2 separate regions of the Homo sapiens genome follow, and region 2 is linked to region 1. The links are contacts of gene promoters, found by promoter capture Hi-C in human tissues and cell types (Jung and others, 2019). All regions are on one chromosome and are shown on one strand. The core of a region is centred on a gene start or on the middle of the fragment in contact, and the rest is flanking DNA. Distances in the headings are between cores, read along the strand shown. Region 1 holds the start of SERPINF2 (serpin family F member 2). Region 2 overlaps SRR (serine racemase).

What was found. The method cuts DNA at HindIII sites, captures the fragments that hold promoters and counts their contacts. A contact is called where the count stands out against the background at its distance.
Region 2: a fragment that was not itself captured here is called in contact with the fragment with the promoter of SERPINF2 in region 1 in 2 of the 25 tissues and cell types used here (dorsolateral prefrontal cortex and pancreas).

The regions. Positions count from the first base shown.
Region 1 is chr17:1,737,366-1,744,991 of GRCh38, reverse strand. SERPINF2 (serpin family F member 2) reads right to left here and starts at 2,121. Exons shown (of 10, transcript NM_000934.4): 1 at 2,084-2,121. It overlaps WDR81 (WD repeat domain 81), which reads right to left. Exons shown (of 10, transcript NM_001163809.2): 10 at 6,407-7,626. The coding sequence ends at 7,307. The HindIII fragment of the contact is 23,738 bases long and covers 1-7,626 here.
Region 2 is chr17:2,316,191-2,323,870 of GRCh38, reverse strand. SRR (serine racemase) reads right to left here. Exons shown (of 8, transcript NM_021947.3): 3 at 5,875-6,001; 4 at 4,942-5,045; 5 at 2,446-2,565; 6 at 2,255-2,329; 7 at 526-735; 8 at 1-216. TSR1 (TSR1 ribosome maturation factor) reads left to right here. Exons shown (of 15, transcript NM_018128.5): 15 at 1-1,475. Among named protein-coding and RNA genes, the nearest start is that of SNORD91B, 9.2 kb to the left of the region's middle. The HindIII fragment of the contact is 6,003 bases long and covers 3,158-7,680 here.

The DNA.
Region 1 (7,626 bases), core at 872-3,371:
CTGTGGCAGGGACAGAAAGCTCTGTTCCCATCTCACATCCCCACGCCCGCCAGGGAATCCTACCCACGCGATCACAGATAACGCCAAGTCCTGGGTCATGATTGCCAAGGGGAAGAAGCAGGCTCCAGAATCAGAACAGACCCCAAACACACGAGCAGCGGCTCCCACTCCTGCAGCTGGGACATCCGCCCTGGCTTCTCCCCCTTTTTAGTTTCTGGTGTTTCATATTTCATGCATTTCATGCACTGAGGGTGTTTTGGTGAATAGGAGGGAGATACCAAATCAAAAACGTTCTCATTCTACAAGGCCCTGCGCTGTGAATCAGATCTGTGTCTGAATCCAGGCTACCTCTTGCCAAAGGACCTCGGCATTTCCCGTAACTCCACCAGGCTTGGCCTTACCTTGTAAAACGGTGGCACAAGTCCCTCACTCTTCTCACATGCATGGTGAGGACCAAAATAAGACCGTCTTTTTGGGATTTTTTGTTGTTTATTTTTTGAGACGGAGTTTCGCTCTCGTTGACCAGGCTGGAGTGCAGTGGCAGGATCTCGGCTCACCGCAACCTCCACCTCCCAGGTTCAAGCGATTCTCCTGCTTCAGCCTCCCGAATAGCTGGGATTACAGGCATGCACCACCACGCCTGGCTAATTCTGTATTTCTTAGTAGAAACGGGGTTTCTCTGTGTTAGTCAGGCTGGTCTTAAACTCCCGACCTCAGGTGATCCTCCTGCCTCGGCCTCCCAAAGTACTGGGATTACAGGCATGAGCCACTGCACCCGGCAAAAGACCATCTTTGTGGCCAGGCACGGTGGCTCAAGCCTGTAATCCCAGCACTTTGGGAGGCCAGGGGCAGGTGGATCACCTGAGGTCGGGAGTTCAAGACCAGCCTGGCCAACATGGTAAAACCCCATCTCTACTGAAAATACAAAATTAGCCAGGCGTGGTGGTGGGCCCCTGTAATCCCAGCTACTCGGGAGGCTGAGGCAGAGAACTGCTTGAACCCGGGAGGCGGAGGTTGCAGTGAGCCGAGATCACGCCACTGCACTCCAGCCTGGGCGACAGAGCAAGACTCTGTCTCAAAAAAATAAATAAGACCATCTTTGTAAACCCTGAGTACAATGCTTGGCACTCCCCCGATGGCTGGGGTCAGCTTGGCTCAAGGCCACCTCTTCTGGGAAGCCTGCCCTGAAGCCTCCACCGCAGAGCTCCAACACAGAGCTCCTACCCAGCCTGCTGCATCCATTTAGCCTGTCTTTTTTTTTTTTTTTTTTTTTTTTGAGATGGAGTTTCATTCTTATCATGCAGGCTGGAGTGCAATGGCACGATCTCGGCTCACTGCAACCTCCACCTCCTGGGTTAAAGCGATTCTCCTGCCTCAGCCTCCCGAGTAGCTGGGATTACAGGCATGTGCCACCATGCCTGGCTAATTTTGTATTTTTAGTAGAGACAGGGTTTCTCCATGTTGGTCAGGCTGGTCTCGAACTCCTGACCTCAGGTGATCCACCTGCCTCAGCCTCCCAAAGTGCTGGGATGACAGGCATGAGCCACCACGCCTGGCCCCAACCCGTCTTTCTCAGGCTGGTCAGGTCTTGCCCACAAGGCTGGACATACCTGTGAGGCCCTGAGGTCTCACCATGGGTGGCAAGGCAGCCAGAGAGCTGCCTTTTGACCCAGCAGCAGAGCCCAGTGAATGACTCTGGCCAGAGCCACCTCTGCACTTAGGAGCATCACAGGCCTCTGCTCCAGGCTGGCTCTGGGAAGGGCAGGTGTTGGTCTCAGGAGGATAAGTCAGAGCAGGTCTCAGCTACCTCCAGCCCACCCCCATCTTGGGGCCAACCCTTCTGGAGGATCCTTTGGTCCCCCCGGCCCCACCCCCATCCCACACAAGAGCCCTTGGCCAGGGCCCCGACTCCGACCTGGGCATTAGAATCTTCTTGCCAAGAACAGGCTCCAGTTTTTCAAGTCCCAGAAGAGGCTGGGGAGTGACAGGCCTCCTGAATAAATCCCAGACCCCTCAGCCAGGGAGGCAGCTCCCTCCTCCTCTCCTACCCAAGGAGCAGGCCGAGCAGCCCCTCCCCTCATACCTCTGCGGGCTCCTTGCTGCCACACACAACGTTCCTCTGGCCCCACTTGGGTGCTCCTCACTCTCTGCCCAGGCTCCAGCTGGCCCAGCCCACCCCTCCCCTCCCACCAGGACCTTTACTCTCAGCCAACCCCTGTTCAGATTGCTTTCTCTTCTGGTAAATATTGACTTGCACATCCAGTTAAACATTGATCTTGAAGCCAGAAGCCCCTTTCCCACCAGGGCATCTAACCCTGAGGCAGCCACGCAGAACCCCCTATATTTGGGTCCCCCCCCCCGAGCCTGGAAAGAGAAAGTTCAGGAGGAGAGAGTTGAAGAGACTGGATCTGGCTAGCCAAGAGGGCGGATCCAGAAAGCACAGGAACCTAGCACTGTGTTAAGCCTTCCAGAGACCCCACGAGGTGTGGATTATCCCTGGTTCAGCCAGGCTCAGAGAGGCCATGTGACCTGCCCAAGGACACAGAGCTGGGCTGAGGCACATCCAGATTCTCACTCCCAATGTCCTTTCTTCTCCCAGAGAGCTGCCTCCCGCTCCTGAGGGGAGGAAAGGGGAAGCCACAAGAGCCTATGCAGAGAGCCCAGGATAGGAAGCCCACCCCCAACCTTCCAAGCCCAGGATCAGGTTGGCTGCCTTCAGACTGGGATGGAAGGCAGGGGGTGAGGGAGGAGAAATGAGAGGGACTCAACTTCTCCCACCGTCCTGCCACTCCAGAGCAATGTCTCTTTCCCCTACCCAAGAGCGAGGGTTCTGGAAACTGACCTGGGGCTGTATGAACCAGAAGCCTGGCAGCCCGTGCAAAGATCAGGCTGCTTCCCACCCTCACTGTCCGGCTCCTCACTCCCTGCATCAGGCTCCTTCCCACCCTCACTGTCCTGCTCCTCACTCCCTGTATCAGGCCCCTTCCCACCCTCACTGTCCTGCTCCTCACTCCCTGCATCAGGCCGCTTCCCGCCCTCACACCTGCTCCTCACTCCCTGCATCAGGCTCCTTCCCACCCTCACTGTCCGGCTCCTCACTCCCTGCATCAGGCTCCTTCCCACCCTCACTGTCCGGCTCCTCACTCCCTGCATCAGGCTCCTTCCCACCCTCACTGTCCTGCGCCTCACTCCCTGCATCGGGCCACTTCCCACCCTCACTGTCCTGCTCCTCACTCCCTGCATCAGGCCGCCTCCCACCCTCACTGTCCGGCTCCTCACTCCCTGCATCAGGCCGCCTCCCACCCTCACTGTCCTGCTCCTCACTCCCTGCATCAGGCTCCTTCCCACCCTCACTGTCCTGCGCCTCACTCCCTGCATCAGGCCACTTCCCACCCTCACTGTCCTGCTCCTCACTCCCTGCATCAGGCTCCTTCCCATCCTCACTGTCCAGCTCCTCACTCCCTGCATCAGGCTCCTTCCCACCCTCACTGTCCGGCTCCTCACTCCCTGCATCAGGCTCCTTCCCACCTTCACTGTCCTGCTCCTCACTCCCTGCATCAGGCTCCTTCCCACCCTCACTGTCCTGCGCCTCACTCCCTGCATCAGGCTCCTTCCCACCCTCACTGTCTTGCGCCTCACTCCCTGCATCAGGCCCCTTCCCACCTTCACTGTCCTGCGCCTCACTCCCTGCATCAGGCTCCTTCCCACCCTCACTGTCCGGCTCCTCACTCCCTGCATCAGGCCCCTTCCCACCCTCACTGTCCTGCGCCTCACTCCCTGCATCAGGCCCCTTCCCACCCTCACTGTCCTGCGCCTCACTCCCTGCATCAGGCTCCTTCCCACCCTCAGTGTCCGGCTCCTCACTCCCTGCATCAGGCCCCTTCCCACCCTCACTGTCCTGCGCCTCACTCCCTGCATCAGGCCCCTTCCCACCCTCACTGTCCTGCGCCTCACTCCCTGCATCAGGCTCCTTCCCACCCTCACTGTCCGGCTCCTCACTCCCTGCATCAGGCCCCTTCCCACCCTCACTGTCCTGCGCCTCACTCCCTGCATCAGGCCCCTTCCCACCCTCACTGTCCTGCGCCTCACTCCCTGCATCAGGCCACTTCCCACCCTCACTGTCCTGCGCCTCACTCCCTGCATCAGGCCACTTCCCACCCTCACTGTCCTGCGCCTCACTCCCTGCATCAGGCTCCTTCCCACCCTCACTGTCCTGCGCCTCACTCCCTGCATCAGGCTCCTTCCCACCCTCACTGTCCTGCGCCTCACTCCCTGCATCAGGCCGCCTCCCACCCTGACTGTCCTGCTCCTCACTCCCTGCATCAGGCTCCTTCCCACCCTCACTGTCCTGCGCCTCACTCCCTGCATCAGGCCGCCTCCCACCCTCACTGTCCTGCGCCTCACTCCCTGCATCAGGCTCCTTCCCACCCTCACTGTCCGGCTCCTCACTCCCTGCATCAGGCTCCTTCCCACCCTCACTGTCCGGCTCCTCACTCCCTGCATCAGGCCGCCTCCCACCCTCACTGTCCTGCTCCTCACTCCCTGCATCAGGCTCCTTCCCACCCTCACTGTCCTGCGCCTCACTCCCTGCATCAGGCCCCTTCCCACCCTCACTGTCCTGCGCCTCACTCCCTGCATCAGGCTCCTTCCCACCCTCACTGTCCGGCTCCTCACTCCCTGCATCAGGCTCCTTCCCACCCTCACTGTCCTGCGCCTCACTCCCTGCATCAGGCCACTTCCCACCCTCACTGTCCTGTGCCTCACTCCCTGCATCAGGCTCCTTCCCACCCTCACTGTCCTGCGCCTCACTCCCTGCATCAGGCTCCTTCCCACCCTCACTGTCCTGCGCCTCACTCCCTGCATCAGGCCGCCTCCCACCCTCACTGTCCTGCTCCTCACTCCCTGCATCAGGCTCCTTCCCACCCTCACTGTCCTGCGCCTCACTCCCTGCATCAGGCCGCCTCCCACCCTCACTGTCCTGCGCCTCACTCCCTGCATCAGGCTCCTTCCCACCCTCACTGTCCGGCTCCTCACTCCCTGCATCAGGCCACCTCCCACCCTCACTGTCCTGCTCCTCACTCCCTGCATCAGGCTCCTTCCCACCCTCACTGTCCGGCTCCTCACTCCCTGCATCAGGCTCCTTCCCACCCTCACTGTCCTGCGCCTCACTCCCTGCATCAGGCCCCTTCCCACCCTCACTGTCCTGCGCCTCACTCCCTGCATCAGGCTCCTTCCCACCCTCACTGTCCTGCGCCTCACTCCCTGCATCAGGCCGCCTCCCACCCTCACTGTCCTGCGCCTCACTCCCTGCATCAGGCCACTTCCCACCCTCACTGTCCTGCTCCTCACTCCCTGCATCAGGCTCCTTCCCACCCTCACTGTCCTGCGCCTCACTCCCTGCATCAGGCTCCTTCCCACCCTCACTGTCCTGCGCCTCACTCCCTGCATCAGGCTCCTTCCCACCCTCACTGTCCTGCGCCTCACTCCCTGCATCAGGCCGCTTCCCGCCCTCACACCTGCTCCTCACTCCCTGCATCAGGCCACTTCCCACCCTCACTGTCCTGCTCCTCACTCCCTGCATCAGGCTCCTTCCCACCCTCACTGTCCGGCTCCTCACTCCCTGCATCAGGCTCCTTCCCACCCTCACTGTCCTGCTCCTCACTCCCTGCATCAGGCTCCTTCCCACCCTCACTGTCCTGCGCCTCACTCCCTGCATCAGGCTCCTTCCCACCCTCACTGTCCTGCGCCTCACTCCCTGCATCAGGCCGCCTCCCACCCTCACTGTCCGGCTCCTCACTCCCTGCATCAGGCTCCTTCCCACCCTCACTGTCCTGCGCCTCACTCCCTGCATCAGGCTCCTTCCCACCCTCACTGTCCTGCGCCTCACTCCCTGCATCAGGCTCCTTCCCACCCTCACTGTCCTGCGCCTCACTCCCTGCATCAGGCTCCTTCCCACCCTCACTGTCCTGCGCCTCACTCCCTGCATCAGGCTCCTTCCCACCCTCACTGTCCTGCGCCTCACTCCCTGCATCAGGCTCCTTCCCACCCTCACTGTCCTGCGCCTCACTCCCTGCATCAGGCTCCTTCCCACCCTCACTGTCCTGCGCCTCACTCCCTGCATCAGGCCGCCTCCTACCCTCACTGTCCTGCTCCTCACTCCCTCCATCAGGCCCCTTCCCACCCTCACTGTCCTGGAAACTGCTGGGTCTCGACTTTCCCCACCCTGACACCACCAGCAAGATAAGCCTCAGGCTGGGCGTGGTGGCTCATGCCTGTAATCCCAACACTTTGGGAGGCCGAGGCAGGAGGATCGCTTGAGCCCAGGAGTTGGAGACCAGCTTGGGCAACATAGTCAGACTCCATCTCTATTGAAAAAAAAAAAAAAGACAAGCCTCAGTTCACCCCATGGCTCTTCCAAAGGATTTATTGGTCCTATTTACATCTATTGCAAATTGTGAGAAGGCAGCAGGGGCCAACCCCTGGACCTCATCTCTGTCTAGAATGTGAGGTCGCAGGGATGCTTAAGTCTTCCTCTGGCAGAGACCCGAGGTGCAGAGATGATTCTTCTCACCCCTTCTCTCAGGGTCGTGGAGCCCCAGCAGGGGTTCAGGGCCCAGAGGCTGCCCCCTCAGCTGAAGGCACAAACACTGTGGTAGGGGTGGGCAGACAACGCATGGACTCACTCCTGGCAGGCGCCACTGGCCAAGTGCACCTTTTCCCCCTGCTCCTAGCCTCCTTCTTCCTTCCCGTCCCGGTCCCACACTGGCCAGGGCCTGGATGGGTGGCCACTTAAACCCCAGACCCAAGCCCTTAACTCCTGGACCACGGCCAGCCTTCCTTAGGCTGGAATCCAAGCACCATCAGTGCCCTGGACCAGGCCAGCTTCCCTGTCCTAGAGGGATGGGACAGAGAGTGCCCAGCGGGGGCTGAGGGGCTAGAGACCGGCTGGGCAGGGCCAGTCTCCCTTCCCCTTCCCGAGCTTCCCTGTCCTCATGTGGACCCAGAGGGCAGAGCTGGGGAGAAGTGAAGGTAGCAACGCTTCCTCCTGCTCTTAACTTCCTGCTTGCTAGGAGCCCTGTGTCCCCAAGCCATGAATGAGACCCCTCTGGCAGGCTTGGTGGCTCTGGTGATTCAGGGGCCAGGACTCCCCCACTCCATTTGCAGGCCCTAGTTGGCAGGCCATGTGGGCACCCAGGGCGTGGGACCCAGGGCCTCCCTGGAGGGAGCTGCTGCTCAGGGAACAGGGTGAGTGGACACGCGCCCGCAGATGTCTTCCCACCCTTGCCCGGCCAGCTCCTGCCTCAGTCTATGCCAGGAGGCGGATAACCCCGTTGTCTGAGCCCAGCAGGAGGTGGCGTTTAGTGGGCAGCAAGGCCAGGCTGGTGAGCGTGCCGCGGAAGTTCTCAGAGCTGAGCTTCGTGGTGGCCTGCGAGGGTGGCTCAAGCAGGGAGCAGACGCCAATCTTGTTGGACACGGTGCCAGTGACCACCTCGCTGCCGTACAGGTCAAAGGTGTGGATGGGGTCGGATGCTGACTTGTAGTGATGGGTGGGCTTCTGCTCCAGCTCCTTCCAGACGGTCAAGGAATGGTCAGAGGAGGAGCTGACCAGGACGCTGCCCTCCACCG
Region 2 (7,680 bases), core at 4,910-7,409, 570 kb before region 1:
AACAGAAACAGACTGATAAGAAGCTGGCCTTTCAGCCTGCTTCACCCAAGTTATGGAGGAGGTTAAGTCTACATTTCCACCACTGAGCACAATACAAATGTTCTTTACTTCTGGGGAAACAGTTTGAAAATGTTGAGACAGCACAGCAGCCACTCCAACACCAGCTGTAGGTTCAATGAGTAGTTTCATCCTCTCCCACACCAGCTGGGTTGCACACTGTTGATATGGAAGGGAGTAGGAATTAGTGAAAGGGGAGTCTAGTTGGTTTACCTATAAAGTTCAGATGAGAATACGTGTCCAGTTTGAATTTTCTTATCACTGTGTACACACGCTTCCCAAAGCTTTTCTTTAATTCTGACTCTGCTTCTGTCAAGAGGGTTGTCATTAATACATCTAGGGTACCCTCCCATGTCATGAAGTTACCTAGTCAGGTTCCCGTGGGTCACTTGCTACTCCTAAGGGAAGTTTCTTCTGCCTAAGAAGTTACACCATGCTTTGCTATTTCTTTTCTTGCTGGAGCCTCACCTTAATTTCATCCTCTGTGACAGTGAAGATATCATCCACAAGGTCCCTGATAATAGGCCAGGTGTTCAAGCCAATGCTGGATTTGACACCATCTGCTATGGTTTCTGGAGGATAAAGATTGGGCATCAGTTTCCCCTTCAGCTTGGACTGGTAGCAGTCATCTGCATTTGAGGGTTCAGCAGCATATACCTTCACACTAGGTTTCAGAGCCTGGGAAGAGGAATATTAAGACATCTTAACAACAAACCACAACATTGCCTGCATGTCTAAAAGAAAATATGGGCCTGGTGTGGTGGCTCACACCTGTAATCCCAACACTTTGGGAGCCCGAGGCGGGTGGATCAGCTGAGGTCAGGAGTTCAAGACCAGCCTGGCCAACCTGGTGAAATGCAGTGTCAACTAAAAATAGGAAAATCAGCCAGGCGTGGTGGCAGACCCCTGTAATCCCAGCTACTCAAGAGGCTGAGGTAGGAGAATCACTTGAACTTGGGAGGGGTAGGTTGCAGTGAGCTGAGATCACACCAAAATGGGGTGGGGCGCAGTGGCTCACGCCTGTAATCCCAGCACTTTGGGAGGCCGAGGTGGGCGGATCACGAGGTAGGGAGATCAAGACCATCCTGGCTAACACGGTGAAACCCCGTCTCTACTAAAAATACAAAAAAAAAAAACAAAAAAAAACTAGCCAGGCATGGTGGCAGGCACCTGTAGTCCCAGCTACTCGGGAGGCAGAGGCAGGAGAATGGCGTGAACCTGGGAGGTGGAGCTTGCAGTGAGCCAAGATCGTGCCACTGCACTCCAGCCTGGGTGACAGAGTGAGACTCCGTCTCAAAAAAAAAAAGAAAATAGGCACAATAAGTAATACATTTCTGCCCAAGTAAGAGCCTTCCCTTTTGTGGATGTAATGAAAATATCTTCAAGCACTTTATAAATAAATTATATGTCTGATACTAGCCTTCCATTGCCTGGATCACATCTGATTGTCCTGGTAATTTGAGAAAAGGGTAGCCCCTTGGTATGGATAGTAGCTTGATGACATGGAATTCAGGGAAAAGACTATGATGGTGTCACTTGTAACTGCTTTTGTGCTGTAAAATTGTCATGGATTAAGAAGAGAGTTGGCTGGGTGCGGTGGCTCACACCTGTAATCCTAGCACTTTGGGAGGCCAAAGTAAGGACTGCTTGAGCCCAGGAGTTCCAGACCAACCTGGCCAACACAGCAAGACCCCATCTCTTAAAAAAAATAAAAATATTAGAAATAATAAATAGGCCGGGCGCAGTGGCTCACGCCTGTAATCCCAACACTTTGGGAGGCCAAGGCGGGTGGATCGCAAGGTCAGGAGTTCAAGACCAGCCTGACCAACATGGTGAAACCCTGTCTCTACTAAAAAAAATACAAAAAAATTAGCGGGGTGTGGTGGCTCATGCCTGTAATCCCAGCTACTCAGGAGGCTGAGACAGGAGAATCGCTTGAACCCGGGAGGTGGAGGCTGCAGTGGGCCAGGATCGTGCCACTGCACTCCAGCCTGGGCAACAGCGAGAATCTGTCTCAAAAAATAATAATAATAGTAAATAGAGTAGTGAGGCAGAGATGGGCCTTCATCTCAAGTCCCAAAGGAATAAGGGGAAGGAATGGTAATGTGTGCAGAATGTTGAGCACGTGTATACAGAACATTTAGGATGTAAAGTAAATCCTCTGCTTGAAGCAGGGAATCCTCCAGAAGCTGCTCACCTTAACTGTAATTGCTATTCCAGCAAGCATTCCTCCTCCACCTACAGGTACCACCAGTGCATCCACCAAAGGAACCTTTAGTGAAAATATAAACTGTAAGCAGTTTTATATTTAATGTATACATATAAAATAATTGAATATAGCCCAACAGCTTTACCAGTAGCTAAACAGGAAGAACTCAGCTATTTTACCTGGTTCAGCACTTCCAGGGCAATTGTCCCTTGTCCAGCTATCACTGCAGGCTCCTGGTTGGGATGTACCATGATGCCTTCTGTTTCTTCTGTAACTCTTTTTGCAACATTTTCTCTGGACTGAAAGTACATTAATTTAGCTTAATTGATTTGTATTTAATAGAGTCCCCAACAAGTTCCATTTGGTCATTCAGCATTTTATTGACCATCTACTTTTTTCACACTTTGTTCAGGTACTAGAGATATATATGTTAATAAAATATCCCTGCCCTCAAGCACGTTATATTGTATGGTAGAGATGGATGAAGTAAATATATGGTATGTCTAAGTGCAATGGAGTAAAATGAAGGAATTTATTTCATATAGGGTAGCCAAGAAGAGCCTCTAGTAAAGTGACATTTTAAAAGATCTGAACAAGTGCTGTGGATGTCTAGAATATTCCAGAGAGGGGGTAACAGTGCAAAGACTACAAAGTAGGAGTGCTTGGCCTTTCTGAGGAACAGCTAAAAAGGTTAGTATGGCTGGCACAGAGTGGGCAAGAGAAATAATAGAAGATGAGGTCAAGGCTGGGTGCAGTGGCTGACACCTATAATCCCAGCACTCTGGGAGGCCAAGGTGGGCAGATCACTTCAGGTCAGGAGTTCAAGACCAGCCTTGCCAACACGGCAAAACCCCGTCTCTACTAAAAATACAAAAATTAGCCAGATGTGGTGGCACGCGCCTGTAATCCCAGCTACTCTGGTGGCTGAGGCATGAGAATCTCTTGAACCCAGGAAGCGGAGGCTGCAGGGAGCTGAGAAGAAACTACCGCACTCCAGCCTGGGTTGGACAGAGTGAGACCCTGTCTCAAAATAAATAAAAAGAAGATGAGGGACCAGGCACGGTGGCTCACACTTGTAATCCCAGCACTTTGGGAGGCCAAGGCGGGCAGATCACGAGGTCAGGAGTTCGAGACCAGCCTGGCCAATATGGTGAAACCCTGTCTGTACTAAAGAATCAAAAATTAGCTGGGCATGGTGGCACGCGCCTGTAGTCCCAGCTACTCGGGAGGCTGAGGCAGAAGAATCGCTTGAACCCAGGAGGCGGAGGTTGCAGTGAGCCGAGATTGTGCCGCTGCACTCCAGCCTGGGAGACGGGGAGATTCTGTCTAAAAAAAAAAAAAAAAAAAAAAAAAGATGAGAGATGAGGTCAGAAAGATAGGAATGTTTGAGTTTATCCAGGGATTAGATGATTGCAAGAACTCTCGTTTCCACCGTGTATGAGATGGGAAACCAACAGAGGATTTAGACTTGAAAAGAGACAAGTTCTGGCCAGGCGTGGTGGCTCACGCCTGTAATCCCAGCACTTTGGGAGGCCGAGGTGGGTGGATCACGAGGTCAGGAGATCGAGACCATCCTGGCTAACACAGTGAAACCCCGTCTCTACTAAAAATAGAAAAAATTAGCTGGGCATGGTGGCAGGCGCCTGTAGTCCCAGCTACTCGGGAGGCTGAGGCAAGAGAATCGCTGGAACCCAGGAGGCGGGGCTTGCAGTGAGCCAAGATGGCACCACTGCACTCCAGCTTGGGCGACAGAGCAAGACTCCGCCTCAAAAAAAAAAAAAAAGAAGAGACAAGTTCTGACTTTATTAAATGGAGACCTCTGGTTGCTCAAAAAAGCCTGTAGTGTGGCAAGGGTGGATGCAGAGAGACCAGTTTGGCTACTGAATTGAATATAGGTGAGAATTGATGTTGGTTTGAATCAGAGTGCTAACGGTAGACACAGAAGCAGTTGGGTTATGGAAATATGTTGAAAGCAGACTGAGATTTGGATGTGGGGTATGAGAGGGTTATCAGAGAGGATTCCTGGCTGTGTGCAGTGGGTCATGCCTGTGATCCCAGCATTTTGGGAGGCCAAGGTGGGAGGACTGCTTGAATCCAGGAGTTTGAGACCAGCCTGGGCAACAGTGAGACCCTGTCTACAAAAAATAAAGGAATTAGGTGTGGTGGCATGCACCTGTAGTCCTAGCTACTCAACAGGCTGAGGCAGAAGGATCCCACAACATAGAAAGAGTCCATCTTTAACAACAACAACAAAAAATTTTCAAAAAAAGATGACTCCAACTTTTTTTTGAGTAACTAGAAGAATAAAAATTGCCATTTACTAAGATGAGGAAGACTGGAAGGGAAGCAATATAGGGAAGTAAGATCAGGAGTTTGGTTTTAGCTGTAGTTTGAGATGCCTTTTAAGACATCAAGTGGGAAAGTTAGGTAGCTGTTATATAAAAGTTGGCTGTTAAAGGGAGAGAAGTTGGAGTTGGTGTTGTTAGACCATAGGTAATAATTTAAGAAATGAGACTAATGAGATCTTGTGAGTGTAGATAGAGAAAAGGTTGAGCATGCTAACAGAAATAAAGGGGAAACCACAAAGGAGGCTGAGAAGGAGCAGCCAGTAAGGTAGAAAGAGCCATTGGTCAAATGAAAGCTGTTAAGGTGGTACCAAGCACTGCTCTCCTTACCTCATCACTAGGTTCACAGTATACAATTGACGCTCCGTAGGCTTGTATTGCAAGTTTTTTACAGTCTGGAGCTGTCTGGGGCACCACAATATAAGCAGGAATTCCTGGGAGAGGAAAACGAGAGGAAAAAGTCAGGAGAATTTAGAATAGAAACTTATGTGGCCAGGCACGGTGGGTCACACCTGTAATCCCAGCACTTTGGGAGGCTGAGGCAGGCGGATCACAAGGTCAGGAAATTGAGACCATCCTGGCTAACACGGTGAAACCCTGTCTTTACTAAAAATACAAAAAAAAAAAAAAAAAAAAAAAATAGCCAGGCATGGTGGCAGGCTCCTGTAGTCCCAGGCTGAGGCAGGACAATGGTGTGAACCCGGGAGGTGGAGCTTGCAGTGAGCCGAGATCCTGCCACTGCATTCCAGCCTGGGCGACAGTGCAAGACTCCGTCTCAAAAAAAAAAAAAAAAAAGAAAGAAACATGTTCAGCCAGGTGTGGTGGCTCACGCCTGTAATCCTAGGACTTTGGGAGGCCAAGGCGGGTGGATTGCTTGAGCCCAGGAGTTCGAGACCAGCCTGGGCAACATGGTGAAATTAGTATTTTGTATTTGTAAAATAGAAAAAATTAGCCAGGCGTGGTGGTGCGCACCTGTAGTCCCAGCTACTCAGGAGGCTGAGGCAGGAGAATCGCTTGAACCCGGCAGGTGGAGGTTACAGTGAGCCGAGATCGCGTCACCGCTCTCCAGCCTGGGTGACAGCAAGATTCTGTCTTCAAAAAAACAAAACAAACAAAAAAAAAACTTATGTTCATATTGCTTGCAATCAGATAGAGATTTCTTTGGAAAGTTACTTCCCACAGCTATCATCACTCTCACTGAAATTAAGGGCACTTTTCCACTCCTTTCTGAAGATCTACCCAGTACCTTGAGAAATCAAGTACCTTCCAATTTGGCAGCATAGGTGAGAGCCTGGCCATGGTTTCCACTGCTGTGAGTAACAACAGCTTTCGGCTTCCTTTCTAAAGCATCAGGAACCAAGCTTCTGACGGCATTGAGAGCACCACGAATCTGAAAAAGAGGGATGGTGAATTCACATATTTGATTAAAACATTGTTTTGGAAAGCAAGGAGCTTTTCTAGATTTTCTATCCTTAACATGCACATCCAATCTGTCACCAAATCTTATCGATTTACCTCTTAAATATCTCATGTGCATCTTTATTTTTTATTTTTTTGAGATGGAGTCTCCGTTATCCCGGCTGGAGTGCAGTGCCACGATCTCGGCTTACTGCAACGTCCGCCTCCCCACACTGCGTCTACCCCCAGGGCCGGGTTCAAGTGATTTTCCTGCCTCAGCCTCCCAAGTAGCTGGGATTATAGGCACCTGCCACCATGCCCGGCTAAATTTTTTTTTTTTATTTTTTTAGACCTAGTCTCGCTCTGTTGTAGCCCGGGCTGCAGTGCAGTGGCGCGATCTCGGCTCACTGCAAGCTCCGCCTCCCGGGTTCACGCCATTCTCCTGCCTCAGCTTCTCGAGTAGCCGGGTCTGCAGGCGCCCGCCACCACGCCCGGCTAATTTTTTTGTATTTTTAGTAGCGACGGGGTTTCCCCGTGTTAGCCAGGATGGTCTCGATCTTTTGACCTCGTTATCCGCCTGCCTCAGCCTCCCAAAGTGCTGGGATTACAGGCGTGAGCCACCGCACCCGGCCTTTTTTTTTTTTTTTTTTTTTTCCCCCGAGATGGAGTCTTCCTCTATCACCCATGGTGGAGTGCAATGGCGTGATCTCAACTCACTGCAACCTCTGCCTTCTGGGTTCAAGCAATTCTCCTGCCTCAGCCTCCCAAGCAGCTGGGATTACAGGTGCCTGGCACCAAGTCCCGCTCATTTTGTATTTTTAGTAGAAAGTGTTTCACCAAGGCTGGGTGCGGTGACTCATGCCAGTAATCCCAGCACTTTGGGAGGCAGAGGCGGGCGGATCACAAGGTCAGATCAAGAACATCCTGGCTAACACGGTGAAACCCTGTCTCTACTAAAAATTCAAAAAAAAAAAAAAAAAAATTAGCTGGGCGTGGTGGCAGGCGCCTGTAGTCCCAGGTAATCGGGTGGCTGAGGCAGGAGAATGGCGTGAACCTGGGAGGTGGAGCTTACAGTGAGCCGAGATCGTGCCACTGCACTCCAGCCTGGGGGACAGAGTGAGACTCCGTCTCAAAACAAAACAAAACAAAACAAAAAAGCGTTTCATCATGTTGGTCAGGCTGGTGTCGAACTCCTGACCTCAGGTGATCCACCTGCCTCAGCCTCCCAAAGTGCTGGGATTACAAGTGTGAACCACTGCGCCTGTCATATATTTGTATTTTTTGTAGACAGAGTTTTGCCGTGTGGCCCAGGCTTAGATCTTTTATATTGATAATGTATCCATGTGTAGCAAGTTGATACAGTGAATGCTTAAACTTGGGTCATATACAGAGTGATAACACTTTCCAATTTGCCTGCAACAGTTCAGGTGTCTGTTTAGATATTTCAGGTTGCTTCTTTCAGTCCCAAACATGTCCTAGTTTGGATAATAAATTATGTCTTAGTTTGGACAGTAAGTGATGGTATATATAATAAAGTCATGCTTTGCTTAAGGATGGGGATATGTTTCGAGAAATGCATGATTTGGCAATTTCATCATCTTGCATGCACCATAGAGTGTACTTATACAAATCCAGCTGTTACAGCCTATTACTCCTAGGCTGCAAACCCTG